Linked DNA regions of Homo sapiens: all the other regions are linked to region 2. The links are contacts of gene promoters, found by promoter capture Hi-C in human tissues and cell types (Jung and others, 2019). All regions are on one chromosome and are shown on one strand. The core of a region is centred on a gene start or on the middle of the fragment in contact, and the rest is flanking DNA. Distances in the headings are between cores, read along the strand shown. Region 1 overlaps MCTP2 (multiple C2 and transmembrane domain containing 2). Region 2 holds the start of RGMA (repulsive guidance molecule BMP co-receptor a). Region 3 has its middle 46 kb from the start of MCTP2.

Evidence for each region. The method cuts DNA at HindIII sites, captures the fragments that hold promoters and counts their contacts. A contact is called where the count stands out against the background at its distance.
Region 1: a fragment that was not itself captured here is called in contact with the fragment with the promoter of RGMA in region 2 in 1 of the 25 tissues and cell types used here (lymphoblastoid cells).
Region 3: a contact is called between a fragment that was not itself captured here and the fragment with the promoter of RGMA in region 2, in 1 of the 25 tissues and cell types used here (lymphoblastoid cells).

The regions. Positions count from the first base shown.
Region 1 is chr15:94,319,365-94,322,834 of GRCh38, forward strand. The region is part of intron 4 of MCTP2 (multiple C2 and transmembrane domain containing 2); the gene reads left to right. Among named protein-coding and RNA genes, the nearest start is that of MCTP2, 90 kb to the left of the region's middle. The HindIII fragment of the contact is 4,413 bases long and covers 1-3,470 here.
Region 2 is chr15:93,087,216-93,090,817 of GRCh38, forward strand. It overlaps RGMA (repulsive guidance molecule BMP co-receptor a), which reads right to left and starts at 1,996. Exons shown (of 4, transcript NM_020211.3): 1 at 1,704-1,996. The coding sequence starts at 1,717. It overlaps LOC101927025 (a long non-coding RNA gene), which reads left to right and starts at 1,999. Exons shown (of 5, transcript XR_007064769.1): 1 at 1,999-2,062. The HindIII fragment of the contact is 13,871 bases long and covers 1-3,602 here.
Region 3 is chr15:94,183,723-94,187,565 of GRCh38, forward strand. No RefSeq gene overlaps it. Among named protein-coding and RNA genes, the nearest start is that of MCTP2, 46 kb to the right of the region's middle. The HindIII fragment of the contact is 4,058 bases long and covers 450-3,843 here.

The sequences.
Region 1 (3,470 bases), core at 702-3,201, 1.2 Mb after region 2:
ACTCAGAAGTTTTATCTAACACAATCCTTTGGACCAATAGTTCTCAAAATTGAATGAGCCTCAGAAGAGTCTTAGGAACTAATGAAAATGCACATCTCTGAGCCCCGCACACAGACTCTCTGATTCAGTGTGTCTGGGGTGGGGCCTGGGAATTTGCGTTTCTAACAAGTTCCCAGGTAAGGCTGATGCTGCTGGCCCAGGAACCACACTTGGAGAACCTTTGCTCTAGGCAGTCCCTGTCACAGGTGGGTGTCGGCACATGAGAAGAAACCCATGCTTCTCCTTAGAGGTAGAGTTTCAACTCTTGATTATGTTAGCCAGACATTGTATTTTCCTGGGGCTTTTTCTCATTACCTGTTTGCTGTCTGTCATTGGTCTCAGCTTTACTTAATTTGTATTGGAATATAATTTAATTTAGTATTAACCCAATTAAAACAGGTTTAAGAAACTGTGTGATATGCTAAAGTACTAACTATAACATGTTTTTGGCTTATCTATGCATTTACAATATTTAGTCTTTATAACGTGTTCTCCAATTCTGTAGATACTAAACCAATAGCTTATTGTTGCAATAGGAAGTATCTTTCAATACAGACTCAGATGGCATTTGTCCTATGCAGTCTTTTATGTTTTTCACAGGCATAAGCTCTGTCTCACCTCAATCTTATAAGATTTTACCTTTATAAAACATATACCTTTATCCTTAATTGGGGAAATGACTGATCTGCTCTATTACAATCTTAGTGCTGTATTAGGAGGGAGAATAGTTTATTAATCTTTTTTTTTTTTTTTTTTTGAGATGGAGTCTCGCTCTGTCGCCCAGGCTGGAGTGCGGTGGCACAGACTCGGCTCACTGCAAGCTCCACCTCCTGGGTTCACGCCATTCTCCTGTCTCAGCCTCCCAAGTAGTTGGGACTACAGGCACCCGCCACCACGCCCAGCTAATTTTTGTATTTTTAGTAGAGACAGGGTTTCACCGTGTTAGCCAGGATGGTCTCGATCTCCTGACCTTGTGATCCACCCGCCTCGGCCTCCCAAAGTGCTGGGATTACAGCTGTGAGCCACTGCGCCTGGCCCTAGTTTATTAATCTTTGTATGCCCTCCTGTGCTATAACTGATGGTTTATACACAGAATATTTTTAATAAATTTTAGTTCTTCGTTGAAGAAATCCAACTTCAGTGCTGGACTTAAGGAGCATTGAGGCCTGTTATACAAGGGAAAGTACCTTTTCAGAATGAACAGTATTTAGTCACTTACTCCCTTATTCAACAAGCATGTCTTGGGTTTCCTCAGTGAAATGGGCACTACACTGGTGTTCTTCTGGGGCTTGGTGATGAAAGTCAGCAAAAAGGATTTATATGATTTCAGAGATGAAGATGACTTTCATATAGGTCACCTGGTCCAGCTGCTGATTTAATGGAAGCTTTAATTCAGGAAATGGAAGCACAAAAATTGAATGACTTATTGAGGGTCACGTTGGGAGGCAAGATTCAGAGCAGACTGGGTGGCTCAGTGGGACAAGAAGAGGATTTGGATTTGGTCTACTACTTGGCTTTGTGACCTCCTTGTACAACTTACATAACCTCTCTAAAATGGGTGTGATGTACCTTGCCTCATAATGTGATTGTAAGGACTGAAAAAAGTAAAACAATATGGATGAGGCTGGGGGACAAAATGTTAAGTAAAATAAGTCAGGCACAAAAAGACAAATATCCCATATTCTGACTCACGTGTGAGCTAGAAAGTTGATCCGTGGAGACAGAGAGGAGAATGCTTACTACCAGAGGCTGGGAAGGGTGGGAATGGGGAAAATGAAGAAGGGTTGGTTAAGGGGTACAAAAATACAGTAGAAAGAATAAGTTACAGTGTTCAATGGCTCAGTAGGGTGACTATACTTAATAATAATTTATTGTATATTTCAAAATAGAAGAGAAGATTTGGAATATTCCCAACACAAATGATGTGTTTGAGGTGATGCATATTTCAATTAGGCTGATTTGATCATTACACATTGTATGCATGTATCAAAATATTACGTGTACCCCATAAATATGTACTATTATTATTAATAAAGATGTATAGATGCCATAGTGGCCTACATTTAGAAAATAGGCAATAGATATGTTGTTATAGTAATTAATGAATAATCATAATGCAAGTTGGCCATGTTCTTGACTCCCAGTACAGAACTCATTGCTGTGTTCCATGTCAGCTCCCCCGTCATTGAATTAGATGCTTGGTCCCTAACTTGTGTCAGTTTGCCAATTTCTCTGTGCTCTCTCTATGATCTGTCTTTAGCATAGGGTTTTTAAAATACAGCTAATCAATAAACAATGCAGGAGGTTAGGGGTGCCAACCCCTCATGCAGTCAGAAACCCACATATAACTTTTGAATTCCCCAAAACACAACTACTAGTGGCCTACTGTTGACCAGAAGCCTTACTGATAACATAAACAGCCCGTTGGCATATATTTTGTATATGTATTATATACTGTATTCTTATAATAAGGTAAGCTAGAGAAGAAGTGTTAAGAAAATCATAAAAGAGAGAAAGTAGATTTATTATTCGTTAGGTGAAAGTGGATCATCATAAAAGCCTGCACCCTCATTGTCTTCACATCCAATTGGCTGAGGAGGAGGTGAAAGACCAGGGTTTGGTCTTGCTGTCTCAGGAGATGCAGAGGAGGACAAAAATTCTGTATAAGTGAACCCTTGCAGTTGTTCAAATGCATGTTTTCAAGAGTCACCTGTATTTTATTTTCCTATGTGGAATCATGTATTTAATTTTAAGTAAAAAACACGGATCTAATTAATCACATATTTTTTATTATGACAGAGGCTCCTTCAGAGTTATTCAAATGTGTTGCAACCTTGACCATGGAGGAGCAGCAGCTTTAGGGCCTTTAATTCCAATTGCACAGCCCCTGTTTTTGAATTTTTTTTTTTTTAGGGAGAAAAGCTATTTTGATGAATCACTCTCTGCTAAGGAAGGAGTTCTGCATTTTCTTCGGATTGTTACATAATCATTACTGTCTGTTACTTTCTGTCTAGAACATGGATTAGTAGACTTTTTATGGCTTTATGGGCTATAAGTGAAAATTAACTCTTGACATAGTGAGAAAGCAGCCATAGACAATAAACAAATGAACATAGCTGTTTTCCAATATAAATTTATTTACAAAAACAGGCAGTGGTCTGGATTTAACTGATGGGCCAAAGTTTGTTGACCTCTGCCTAGAATATCATGGTCTGATTTTTGGATTCTTGCTTTGAAAAACTGCTTTAAAAACATCTACAACAAAGATGGTATAATCTCATTAGGCAGTCATCAAGAGTTGAGGCTAATGCTTTCAGCGGAAGCATCTTGGAAATACGACATGAAATCATGCAGAAAAATCCGGAGATGTTGGGTAATAAAAAGTCATTTTCTTGCTATTTAACTCAGCAGTGGAGTGGAAGAATATGGTG
Region 2 (3,602 bases), core at 746-3,245:
CCCTTCAGAACCGGGTGAGCCCAGCTCACTGCTAATATATTATCTGGCCTGGAAGGTGGCAGCAAAAACCAGCCACAGAGAACGTGGAGCCCGCCTGGATGTGTGGGTGCCCCACCCAGAGCCTTTGTCTGCAGAACTTGCCATCCAGCCACGTCTGCCCCAGTTGTTAATTGGAGATCATGTCCCTGTAAAGGGGGCTTGCTTGTCACTTGCTGTGGTAACAGCAAGAAACCCCTTCTTTGTATGTGCAAAAAAAAAAAAAAAAAAAACCACAAAACCCAGTTTGGGTACACTATTCTGTTCCTGCACAAATGGGCAGGAGGCCCTCTCCCAGTTCTCCTCCTGTTGCCCTTCGGAGCACAGTTACTCTCTTTTCTAGGGGTCATGGCTCAAAATCCACCCAAGAAATCACCCGTTTGTGATGCACAGGAGAAGACAGAGGTTTGTGCATTGGTTTTCAAGATCTCTGCACCAGATACCTGCGGAAGGGGCATCTTCTTACAGCAGTTAACATTTTATATTACGTTTTTGCTGGAAGAGTCTAAAACCAAACAGAGAAGGTGATGGAGCTCCTTTAGGTGACAGCATGCCACTCAACACGACCCGCAATTTCGTCCCCTGAGCTCAATGTGCTGAGCATGGGAGGTCGGGGTTCTCCCTGGTACCGTCGATACTCAGAGAGCTTCTGTAGCCTCCTTCCTGGAGGCGAGGGCTGGTTCCCGCCTCTCCACCTTGTGCGGGAGACTACTTTGAGAACACCCAACAACTTCGCAGCCTAAGAGGAATGCACAGCTCACCACTTCCGCTAGATGGCGCTACTTCCCCTACTCCGCCCGCGAGACACCCAATTTATAAAATAAATACAACCCAACACCTCCCAAAACCACACCACATAATAGCAGCTCACAGGCTCCCATTAGAAATCTCAATTTGGGAGAACTGATTCTACCTCCGAGCAAGTCTAATACAATTACATTAATAAGACGCAATCCCGAATTGCACCCGAGCGTCCCCCACACCCGCCCTCCCATTGAATACACCTGTCCCCCATGCCCGGGCTTGTACCCTGGGTTGAGCTGCGGCGCGAGCCGGCGCTGAATCGTCGCCGTGCCCTCCCGTCCACTTAGGAAAGCCGGGGCGGCTTGGCAATGGGCATCCTCGGCCCTCAATCCAAGGTCCGCACCTTCCCGTACGCCGGCGCGCCGAGGCAAAGGGCCGCCGGGACGCGAGCCCACGCGGTGCACTGCGCCGACATCCCCGAGGGCAGGAGATGGCCAGGCAGCTCCGCAGCCGGGCGTCGAGCGGGAGGCGGGGGCCCGGGCGGCGCGGGCCAATGGGGGTTCACGGCGGGACAGTCGGGTGGCCGGCTCCGTCCGGGGCTCCGCGAGCCGGGCTGAGGGAAGGAGCTCCCAGCCCGCACACGGTGTAAGGGACGTGTGCCGGGTCTGCCCAACCACGCGCGCTGGCGGCTGCCCGGGGGAGAGTATTTTAGGAAAAAAGAACAAACACCAAACCACAAAAACTTTCCTGCTGCCAACAGCTAAAGCGATAGAGGCGCAGCAAAGCTCCAAATGTGGGCAAGATGGGAGCAAGATGAGACGCGGGGCTAAGGAAGACCAAAGCAGCGCCGTGGCCCCGGCATGTGTCGGCGGCGCCTCGGAGATGTCAGAGCCGGGTCTGCCCGGCTCCCGACCCGCGCTTACCTTGGCGGCTGCATGAGCCCCTGCGGCCCGCGGGGGGTGGCGCTGGCGGGGCTGCGGGAGAAGAGGGGGTGTCGGGGCGCCGCTCGTCTGCCCCGGGGCAAGGTGGGAGGGGCTCCGCTGGCGCTGGTCCCCGCCGCCCCGGCCGGCTCAGCAGCGGCCCGGGGAGCGCCTCCTGCTCCCGGGCTGCATGCCTGCGAGCGCCTGGCGGAGCCGGCCCGGGAGCGAACGGCCAGTGCTTCCCCGGCCCAGCGGCTCGGGCGGCGCAGCCAGCGCTCGGGAGACAACTGCAGAGTGGGGCGGCCGGGACCAGCCCCCTCCCTCGCCCGGCCCCCGCCCGCCGCCGAGCGCGGCGTCGCGAGGTTCGTTTGCGCGCCGAGGGGAGGGGGCGGGCCGGGCGCCCGGGCCGCGGGCGGGGGGCGCGCGCGGGCGGGGCCGGCAGGGAGGGGCGGGGAGGAGCGGGGTGCGGGCTCGCGTTGCCCCGCCCCGCCGCGGCCCCACCCTCCCGCATCAGCACCGGCTGGGTGGGTGCGGAGTGCGCCAGCGGCCAAGTCAAGACTCCTTGAATGCTCAGGTTAGGGGGCGCGGGCGGCAAGTGCGGCGACTCCCCGGGGCGCCTCCAACTTTCCGAATCGCCCGCAGGGTTGCGGTGGAGCGCACGGTGTCCTTCAGTTAGGCGGTGGTCGAGGGGAGTTCCTCTGAGATTTCTGGAGAAGGCGGTTACATCCAAGACAAATGCTGTTGCGCTCTGCGGAGACGCACCTTTGTTCTATAGAGATTTTGTTGTTGTTTAAGAATCTTCCTGAAAAAACTAATACATATGTATTACATGCTAACACACGCATACATTCTTGCGTAGAATTGTACATAACTCAGGAGTGTCTAGAGTGAAAAGACCGTATCGCACTCCCTCCCACGGCCGCGGCTCTCCCACGGCCGCGGCTCCCCCGCGGTAACCTTCGGTCAGGGTGTGCTCTGCCGCGGTTCTTTCCAGTCTCTGCGCTTTTACATGCACACGCACAGATTGCGAGTGGAATCTCCTGGGCTTTTCAAAAGAATGTTTTCAACATTAAGCGCATGCACACAGTGGCTTGAACACGGCCACGTCGGGAGCAGTAAATCCCCAGAGGCTCCGGGAGCCCAGGGAAGGACCCTTGCTGTGAAACAGCAAAGAGCCACCCAATCGCCATGTGTGGATCTGAAACCCCAGCTGGAGCGTGAAGTCGGTCTGGTTACACAGCTCAGGCCCAAATTAGCACTGCACGGTTAGAGAGATTTGCCAGTACATTCTAGACAGGGTTATGACCTTCCCCTTCTTACAGAACAAACTGTCTTGAATTTTGATATGATGAGAACTCTGGATTTGCAAAATGAAAAGGTATCGTCCGCATTAAAACACGATCGTTATTTATGCGTGTGGTCTTCAGAGATGTGGTTTTAACTCAATATTCTCCGTTTTATTTGTCAAGTGTATTTGTATAATCTATAGCTGGGATATAAATAAAATTAAGTGGTTTAGCAGGAAGGGATTGGGGATGGGTTTCTAGAATTAGCTCTGACCTTCGGCAAGTCATCTAGCTCTGCTGGGCCTCAGTTTCCTCATCTATGAATAGTAGGGTGTGTGTGTGTGTGTGTGTGTGTGTGTGTGTGTGTGTGTGTGTGGTCTTCCTGCCCTGACATTCTGTGCCCTGACATTCAGTGAATAACCAATTTCTTCATCTTTCATAGCTCAGCTCCAACATCTTCCCCACCCTCTAGGGAGTCCTCACATCCGTGCCTTTCCTTCCTAACACTGAGCTCACTCGGTAATTAGGCGCTCATTAGAGTGACCTTTCCCTACATGTTGGCCTCTCCCACCGTACCATAAGCATCATGAGGGCAGGAACCAGGACTCCTTGGAGT
Region 3 (3,843 bases), core at 1,229-3,728, 1.1 Mb after region 2:
TATTATAGAAGAAACAGACAAATCTACAAGTACAGTTGGAGACCGCAACACCCCTCTCTCAACAAGAGATAAAATAACTGGACAGAAAATCAGCAAGTGTGTAGAAGAATTCAACATACCATCAACGAAAGGGATCTAATTGACATTTATAAAACACTCCACCCCATAAAAACAGAATACACATTCTTTTAAATTGCCCATAACACGTATACAAAATTAGACCATATACTGGGCCATTAAACAAACCTCAGAAAATTTAAAACAACTGAAATCATTACAGTGTGTTACCTGACCACGGGAGAATAAAACTAGAATTCATTAAGAGCAAGATAACAGGAAACTCTTCAAACACTTAGAAACTCAAACCACACTTCTAAATAATATATGAATCAAAGAGGATGTCTCAAAGGAAATATAAAATATTTAACCTGCATAAAAATAAAAATACAACATACCAAAATGTGTGGCACACAGATGAAGTAGTGCTGAGAGGTAAATTTGCAGCTCTAAATGCAGCAGCCTCCCACCTTTTTTGCATTAAGGACTGAGTTCGTGGAAGACAATTTTTCCCTGGACTGAGGGTAGGGGATGGTTTGGGGATGATTCAAAATTCAAGAGCGTTCCATTTATTGTGCACTTTATTTCTATTATTATTACATTGTAATATATAATGAAATAATTGTTATGTAACCATAACAGAACCAGTGGGAGTCCTGAGCTTGTCTTCCTGCAACTAGATGATCTCCTCTGGGTATGATCGAAGACAGTGACATCTGAAGTGTTTTGCTTATGTCCAGTCTACTCAGTAATCTTGTTTTGGTTGCTGTCACTACAGAAAACCCTGCTTCACAAAGACAGGATGCTGGAAATGGAAGCAGGCTTTTCAGTGCTTTTGTGGCAATCTCTGGATATTTCACTTTGACTTTAATCCAGAACGTATGGAGATTTGTAGTCTCAAGCATACTTTTAAGGCTATCGTCATTTGCAGTGTCAAACAGTTGATCCTCTTCTAGCATGGACACCATCAGTTCGCCTGGCTTATTCACAGATGGGTCACGGATCCATTCCTTCCCAGTTTGGGGGTCTTTTGTGGTGGGAAGCAATGCTCAAACTCCTTTGAAAGCTGAGCTAGGTGATCATGCACCACCTGGTGTAAGAAGGCCCTGCCTCCATCACTTTCAAAATCTGGGCAAGTGTTTAAAACATGTCAGAAATCCCAGTGTTCACTCATTGCCCATAATTCCAGTTTGACTTTGAATGCAGCCACTTTATCTACTGAAATGAACACAGTTGTCATTCTCCCCTGAAGTGACAGATTGAGTTTGTGTAGCATGTTGAATAATATATCACCCAAGGAAGCAAGTTTTGAGACTTATTCTGTGTCGCTGAAACGTGCTGCCAGTGGTAACTGTTTTTCTGAAAGAAATCTCTGGAGTGGCTTTCATAATTCAAAAACTGGCCAGTGATCTACCTTTAGAAAGCCATCTCACGTCTGTGCATAAGACCTGTGTGTGCTCTGCGTCCATCTCCTCACAGAGTTGTGTGAACATATGTGAGTTAAGGGCATGTACTTTAATGTGGTTGATAATTTTAATCACATCCTGCAAAACATTTTTAAGTTCAGGTGACATTTTTCAGCTAGCCAGCATTTCTGTATGGCTGACACAGTGCATAGATTCACATTCAGAAGTGACCTCTCTGACCCAAGTAGTGAAACCAGAAAGCTGTCCAGTCATGGCAGCCACTCCATCCATGCATGTACTGATACAAAATGATCAATTCAGTTTTCCTGATATGTAATCATTCAAAGACTTGAATAGTTCTGCAGGTGTTTGTCTGCAACAAAAGTGCGCATAACATATCCTCATGCACATCCACCTGAAAATGTATAACACAAAAACAATCATTTTTGCCTTTTTGTCAACATCGGTAGACCTGTCAACCTGGATTGTGTATCATGGTGATTCATTAATTCTCTCTAACAATTGTGTCTCAATATCCTCTGCTATTTCATTACTTTATCTAGTTACAGTGCCAGCCAAAAGAGGAACACGTGTCCCCTTTTGAACTACAGCCTCTCCTAAAATTTCATGACGAATGTCCTTAGCAGCAGGCAGGATCAACTCTTCACCAATAGTAAAGGGCTTCTTAGCGTTAGCAATGAGATTAGCCACTAAGAATGTTGCTCTCAATGCAGACACATTTGATGAAGTGGTGGCCTTCAATAATTGCATCTGTTCTTCCTGTTCACATTTAAAAAAAAAAAAAAAAAAAACTCCAAAGGCTTGTCTTTTAATGCAGGGTGCTTAGTCTCCATGTGGTGAAGCAGTTTTGCAGGTTTTATGGCTTTGTCGGATGGCTAGTTACCACATATTATACAAAGCGTTCTTGAAGAATGTGAATCACCTGTTGCAATGAACCTGTACTCTAAATAGGACTCTTGGTATTTTGTTTTAAACGCAGCTTTCTTTTTGTTGGCGGTCTCAGAGTCTCACCATTAGATCTTTCCCCCTTTTCAAAGAAGCTCTCTGGTGATATTTGCTTTTTACTCATTTTGCCTAGGGTTAGCTTGTGGGGTTACCAAAACTGTAACTGAGGTAAGTGTGCAGTGAGGAAAAGAGGCACAGACGAAAGTGGTAAATATTCTACGGACCACATATGGACTAAAATAAGTGCTGGATTCTGATTTAAGGCCTGCCACCAGACGTAGCCATACAATGGAAGTACGTTAACTCACTTGCTGCTATAAAGCCTGCCACTGGAAGCAGCTTAATTGTCACTTGCCACTTGCTGATAGGGTTTTGATATGAATCTGCAAGCAGTTGATTTATTATGGTCTCTGTGCATTTATTATTTGCAGCTGCTCCCCAGCACTAGCATTACCACCTCAGCTCTACCTCAGATCATCAGGGATTAGATTATCATAAGGAGCACACAGTCTAGATCCCTCACACACACTGTTTACGATAGGGTTTGTGCTCCTATGAGAAACTAATGCCACCGCTGATCTGATAGGAGGCAAAGCTCAGGTGGTAATGCAAGCAATGAGGAACAGTTGTAAATAGAGATGAAGCTTCACTCTCTTGCCCGCAGCTCACCTCCTGTGGTGTGGCCTGCTTCCTAACAGAAATTGTGAGGAATTGAACTCAGTGTTGTCCTGTTAGAGCAGAAAGAAAAACCAGACCAAACTCAGCTGATGCTCGCCCATGGAGAAGCATTTACCACACTCATAGCCAGAAGGGAATCCCCTAGTGGTTCGAACTTGAGTGCCTGCAAACCTAGCCACTAAGGGCTACAGCATTTTGTGTCTCCAAGCAAACTTGAAAGGCAGTCTAGGCCATAAGGACTGAAACTCTTAGGCAAGCCCTAGGGCTGAAATAGGCCCAGAGACAGTGGACTGTGGAGGCGGAGCATGTGACCTACTGAGATGCTGCCTGGGGCAGCTAAGGGAGTGCTGTCATCATCCCTCCCCTAGTCCCAGACTACACAGTTCATGGCTCCAAAAGAGACCTCCTGGGGAGGACTTTGTCTTGCATCTAGGATACCAGCTCAGTCACAGCAGGATAGGGCACTGAACATGTTTGCAATCTACCCATCTGACAAAGGTCTAATATCCAGAATCTACAAGGAATTTAAATTTACAAGAAAAAAACAACCCCATCAAAAAGTAGGCAAAGTATATGGACACAGGGAGGGGAACACCACTCACCAGGGCCTGTCAGAGGATGGGGGTCAAAGGGAGAAAGAGCATTGGGACAAATACCTAATGCATGTGGGGCTTAAAACCTAGATGATGGGTTGATAGGTGCAGCAAACCACCATGGCACATGCATATCTAGGTAA